2 separate regions of the Homo sapiens genome follow, and region 1 is linked to region 2. The links are contacts of gene promoters, found by promoter capture Hi-C in blood cells and fetal thymus (Javierre and others, 2016). All regions are on one chromosome and are shown on one strand. The core of a region is centred on a gene start or on the middle of the fragment in contact, and the rest is flanking DNA. Distances in the headings are between cores, read along the strand shown.

Region 1 (3,135 bases), core at 148-2,647, 180 kb after region 2:
GACACTGGTCAAGAGTGCCAAGCCTGAAATAATCATAATGTATTGTGCCTTAGAAGAAGATGCAGGCCATTTTCAACTCATTTTACTTCTCTGCAGCCCTTAAAGGGTAAACAAGAGCATGTCAGGGATTCCTGTGGCTCCATATGAAGGGTCGTGGAGACTAGCAGAAGGGCAGAAACCATCAGACTGCAGTTTCTCCAGGCTAAACAATGGAACATCCAACCTGAAAATGACGTTGGGATAGTGTCCCGATGAAATACGGATTTCATTCTAGAAGGAGTTCTTTTGGTAGCAAAGATAGGCATGAAGCTGAACATTGCTCCAAGAAAACCAAACATTGCTTATAAGAACCATATAATGTTCACACAGGTAGCCAGTAGCAGATGGCAGAGATACATTTGACTACTTACTAAGTGGTTTCTTCATTCTCTCTTTGCTTCCTTCATAGGAGATGTATGAGAATATGAGACTCAAAGAGAGAGAAAAAAGGGAAAGTTCATTTTTAAAAAAAAAGATAAAAAGATAAGCCCTCTCCTTTACTGTAAGCCTCTAGGTTCAAAAACAGGTTTAGCTTGAGTTAGGACAGGTGGAGAGGAACATAGTTTAGGAAAGGAGGCTGGAGGCAAGGAGATGAGTCTAGAATGGACTTTGATATGGAAGCTATAAAAGAAGCAATCTTGAATATTGAAACAAGAGTATACTATTAAACAAGAATGATTGGAAAATTGTGGAGTTGGCCACGAAACTGTTAAGCAAACCGCTACTCAGGAGAAAGGAAGAGTTATTAGAAAAGGAACACAAGTTCATGTTTATACTTCAACTCTTGAGACTCACTGCAATTCCCTTCTGACAGGAATTTTTTTTTGTCTTATATATGGTAGAGTTAATTGTTCTAGAAGCCTACTTCAAGCTAACTTAAGCAACAAAGTGGGATTTATTGGAAAGCCGCTTGGGTGTCTCACAGAACCCAAGGAAGAGAATTGAGCTGGATTTCACAGGACCTGGAAAACCCTCAGAAACTCAATTGTTCTCTCTCTTTCTTCTCTCTCCAGTCAGAACCTTCAGGAAGGGGAGAGTGGCTCATGGGCTGAGTGGATAAACCACAAAATGGGTAATATACTATAGGTGAGTTTTAAGTGACAAATGAAGTCTAAGCTGTTATTGCACTGGTCGGTGACTGAAACTGAAAATGGGAATTAGAGGTTAAGTGGAGGGAATATGTTGCCAAAATGTTAGAAGGATCTTCTTCAAAGAGAAGTTGAGGCTCTAGAGGATAATGGTAGGGCACAGAGTGGAGGTGAAGCTTGTGAGGGGTGGGGGTCAATGGGGAGGATAGGAGAGCATTCCTGATTTTGAGGAGGAAGGATAGAGGGTTTTACTGGTGAATGACGTGAGTAAGTGTCATGACCGCTCGTATTCTCAGGATTCTTCAGTATTGGGAGATGTGACTGCAGTGGACAGGGCAGTGTCAGAGAGACTAGATTTTATAATAGAAGCTTTTAAATTACCTACCCATCACCAACTTATCAGGAGACTGACACTGTCCATCTCCTCCAAAAAAAAAAACTGACCTGCCCGGCACTTTGATGTCCACCAGTTGAGCTTTATGTTTATCAAGAATAGTTGTGTAAACTTCCAAAACTGTTTATGGCAGGCACAGTGGCTCACGCCTGTAATCCCAGCACTTTGGGAGGGTGATGTGGGTAGATGACTTGAGGTCAGGAGTTTGAGACCAGCCTGGCCAACGTGGTGAAACCCCATCTCTACTAAAAATACAAAAAAGAAATTAGCCAGGCGTGGTAGCGGGCGCCTGTAATCCCAGCTACTCAGGAGGCTGAGGCATGAGAATCGCTTGAACCCAGGAGGCGGAGGTGGCAGTGAGCCGAGATCATGCCACTGCACTCCAGCCTGGGTAACAGAGCAAGACTGTCTCAAAAGAAAAAAAAACTGTTTATATCAGTTATATTTGTTATTGTAATGATGAAATTTATAGACAAACTAATGAAATAGGAGTATAAACATACCAGTATTTTTTAAAAATAAGTTGAATATTTTATGACTACATAAACAATAATCTTTTAAAAGTCACTGTCAATTTGATGACTAGGAGTCAGCCATACAACTATAAAAGGTTTTGAGAAAACTGTAAAGATCTAAATAGAGGCTGCATTTAGTTTTTTTCCCCACAAGAACCTTTAGGTTCTAGACATTTATTTCAAATAAATGTCAACTCATCTGGATGTAGCTTATGCAAGAAAGACCTAGAAGAGCTCTTATTATGGACCCCCATTCAATGAAAACACAATGGCCCTTTATTTCTCTTTCAACATGAGGAGGTGGAAGGGCTGTTCAAGCCCTTCTGTTCACGATAGCCCAGGAGGTCCAGGAGAGAGGCGAGCCGTGGGTGAGCAGGAGTGTCTGGGGAGTGTCAACTTTCCATTGAAAAATACCCCTATGATCAAGCCATTTCACTTCCGTGGCAATCTTATTTATGTATTCACCAAAATTGGGTGGGAGCTAGTGTTTAGCTGTCATCGTCCGTAGGCTGCTGTGTTTGGCTCATGGCAGGGTGTGAAACTGGCATCAGGGAGTGTTTGCCAAGTGAATAAGGGTGAGGCTGCCCTTTCCAGAGCCGCCGGGAGAAACTCTGGATACAGAGACCCTAGCCTGGCGCCAGTCCCAGCGTTCCTCCTAGTCGGGGAGGAATCTGTGGGTGGGAGGTGGGGAGCCTGAAACCCAAATACAACAGCCACTCTGGGCTGGGCGTGGTTCCCTGGGAGCTGGGTCTCAGATCCTTTTAAAGCTGATTTCTCCCCGGATCTCCGGGCAAGATGGGCAAGTACACGGTCCGCGTAGCCACCGGGGATTTGCTCCTGGCGGGCTCTCCCAACCTGGTGCAGCTATGGCTGGTGGGCGAGCACGGGGAGGCAGACCTAGGGAAGCAGCTGCCACCGGTGTGGGGAAAGGTGAGCGCGGACTGCGGTGAGAGCTGGGGCCCTGGGACTCAGAGGTGTCACTGGGGGCCGGGGCCATTCGGAGGGTGCTGCTGCCCCACCCATGAGAAACCTGGGAAGCGGGGTAGGGGCTGAGGTCGGGTGCACTTGGTGCGCCTGATAGGAAAAGCGAGAGGAACAG
Region 2 (3,012 bases), core at 107-2,606:
ACTAACGTTAATCCCTTTTGATTCCCAAAGCCTTAAAGTGTCAGAACCAAACCACCTAGCCCCATTGTACAGATGAGAACACCAAGGCCCAGAGAGCACAGGCACTTGGCTAAAGTCACACAGATGACAGAATGGTGGAAGTCCAGTTCTCTTGCAGGTTGGCTTCCTGACACCCCAGTGCACTCCCTTCCTCTAGAGCTCCCCCCCAGAGCATCCCCTGAAGAGCTCCTCTGTTTCCCAAACCTGCCTGGGGAGGGGAGGTGGGGAGCTGGAGGTTTCCTGTCTGGGCTGAGAGTGAAAGGGCTGAAAGAAGGAACGAGGAAGGAGCAGCCAGCAGCCACAAAAGGCTTCAAAGGGCTTGGGCCTCCGCCAAACTGGCTGTGCACAGCCCAGTGGAGCCTGCGCCCACCCTGCGGCCAAGGCCATTCATTCTCTCTCTCCCTCACAGAAGCATTAGGAGACTAGGGCCTGGGAGGAAGCTTCCCTGCAACTCCAGGTCCTGCCACCCAAGGCGCGAGCTCTGGGAATGTGTCCCGCCTCCTGCTACAGCCCCAGCAGGCAGGAGGCAAAGCAGGCCAACCCCAACCTGCCTGCAGCCTGGAGCAGGATTATGAATCAGATGTGGCTCTCCAGGTTGGAAGGAATGTGGATCATAGATAGAGACACTAAGGCCCAAGGAAGGGCCAGAGAGTGGCAAAGACAGCGCAGGATCCACGTGGGTGATGATTTTTTTCCTGTAGGTCCCTCCTGACGGCAGAAGCCACCTACAGCTTGAAGTCTTCTTTGGCGAAGGGAAAAGACAGGAGAGAGAGAGGGAAAGGCAAGCTCCCAGGTTCCCTGTTGGCGCAGGTGGCATTTTGGGGGGAAACAGGGTTATGCACTGTGGGAGATTCGATTCGGAGCCAGGGGCTGAGCCTAAGGCTGGGATCTGTGTGGCTGAGATCTGTGCTCACTTCGAGGTTTCCGTGCTTGCCTGGACGGCTCTTGCGCCCTGGGATCTGTAAACCCCAAGGGTGGTGCGCCCTGGGGTCGCCATGCCCCTCAGATTCTTTACAGGGCACCTCCCATCCGGCACCTGGAGCTCCTGAGTGCGCGCGCCCCGGGAGAGCTGTGCTCCCCGCGAAATCCGTGCGCTCCAGCTCAGGGCTCCCGGGATCGGTGCCCGTTAGTGGGCACAGGACGCCGGGTGTCCGAAGGGCTGCCTGGAGATGCAACTGACCTTGGCGGGCATCAGAATGACGAGTGGCAGCAGCAGGAGCGGGGTGACGAACAAGATCACGAAGGACTTGAACTTGGAGACATAGCTCAGCGCCGAGGCCATCGCGCGGGAGGGAGACTGGCGGGCGAGACGAGTGAGGGGCAGCTAGAGGCGCCGCGGGCTTAAGAAGGGGCCACAGTCCCCGGGGATTGGGGAGGGGGCGGTGACAACTCCGCCCCGCACGGGGGCGCCTCCCCGCGGCCCTGGGGCGGGGCCACCCCTCGGGGTCTGTGGGACGCGCCTGCCCCCAATTCTGCCACCCGGCGGCGGTGGGAGGCGTCTTTGGACTCCAACGCTTCGGGCCAGCCCTCTAGGGGCAGCCTGGGCCCTAGCATCTCGCGCTGTCCAAGCCTCTCCTGCGCTGCCGAGGCAGAGGTGCGTCCCGGGGCTGCCAAGCGGGGCGTGTTTTGGTCACTGGTGCTGCCCGCTTTGGCGTAAGGCGCCCTCCCGCGTCCGCATCTGCTCTTTCCTGGGCTCTGAAGGGTCCCGGATGAAACTCTCTGCAGGCCTCTGGGTCTCTCAGGTCTATCTCCCCGATCTCCCTCTCCTTTCCATCTCCTTACTTCCGCCCCTCCGGTGTCTCTCCGAGAGGTGTCCCCCCACGCCCCGCGCCCTCCGCACCGCGGGCCTCGCTTCCCGGTCCCCCCTGGCTTCCTCGCCACGTCCGCCCCACTCTAGGTGCAGGACCCCTTTTCCCCGCTCGCACTCTCCGGCCCGGAGCTCCTGGGCGATCGCACAGGGAAGCGAGGCCACTGTCCTCCTCTGTCCCAGGGGCTGTCGCGCTCCAGTGGACGCTGCACCCCGCAGACGCCCGGCGGGCAGATGCGGACACGCGTCTTGGAGGGGCCCCACCGAGCCTCAGCAGCCGCAGCTGCCCGCCCGACCCAGGTCAGAGGGAAACGGAGCTCTAGAGAGGAAGGGACACAACTAAGGCGACACTGAGACAGTCGCCCATGTATTCATTCAGCCCGCCAGGCAACAGACAGGTGCCGAGCACCTCTTCTCCGCGAGGCCCTGTTTTGGGCACTGGAGACACACGGATGCAAAGACATCCCCACCTCTGTGATTTTCTTCTTTCCTCTCCTCTGCCTGCCTCTCATTCTGCAGCTTCCTTTTGGGGAGTCTCATCCATGCTGGTGGCCTAACCACAGCCGGCTCCTTAGTGATTACCATCCTCTGCCTTCAACCCAGCCATGATGCCAGAGTCCCAGATGTCCAGCCTTCCGCAGACTGGACGTGTCTCGGCCCGAAAATTCAACACATCCTGAATCAAGCTCATGAGTTCCTTCCTGTGACCTGCACCCAAGGACATGCATTCTCCCAAGCCCCTCCTGCAATTGCCTCCCTCCTGTCCTTTTCCCTTTGTAACTCTCATGCATATAGCCCTGGGTTTTCCCGCCTTTCCTGTGTCCCCAGGGCACTTAGCACAATTTGTACCTCTTATATTTATTGGTGTAATTTTTACTTTTTACTTTTTTATTTTTTAAGTGTTATTTCATTTTTAATTGACAAATCATTGTCTATATTTACGGGGTACCATGTGATTTTTCAATGTGTGTATAATTGTGGTGTGTTCAAATCAGGCTAATGAGCATATTTATCACTCGAATATTTATCATTTCTCTTGTTTTTGTTTTTTGTTTGTTTGTTTGAGACAGAGTTGTGCTCCTGTCACCCAGGCTGGAGTGCAGTGGCACGATCTCGGCTCACTGCAACCTCTGCCACCTAGGTTCAAGCAAATCTCCTGCTTCAGC

Evidence for each region. The method cuts DNA at HindIII sites, captures the fragments that hold promoters and counts their contacts. A CHiCAGO score of 5 or more calls a contact.
Region 1: a contact is called between a fragment that was not itself captured here and the fragment with the promoter of SLC13A5 in region 2, in 1 of 17 cell types (endothelial precursors). The highest score is 7.0, in endothelial precursors.

Annotation. Positions count from the first base shown.
Region 1 is chr17:6,890,951-6,894,085 of GRCh38, forward strand. LOC124903908 (a long non-coding RNA gene) reads right to left here. Exons shown (of 2, transcript XR_007065597.1): 2 at 2,290-3,135. It also overlaps the pseudogene ALOX12P2. Among named protein-coding and RNA genes, the nearest start is that of TEKT1, 61 kb to the left of the region's middle. RefSeq lists an enhancer at 2,730-3,135. The HindIII fragment of the contact is 193 bases long and covers 1,302-1,494 here.
Region 2 is chr17:6,712,013-6,715,024 of GRCh38, forward strand. SLC13A5 (solute carrier family 13 member 5) reads right to left here and starts at 1,357. Exons shown (of 12, transcript NM_177550.5): 1 at 1,220-1,357. The coding sequence starts at 1,321. The HindIII fragment of the contact is 6,998 bases long and covers 478-3,012 here.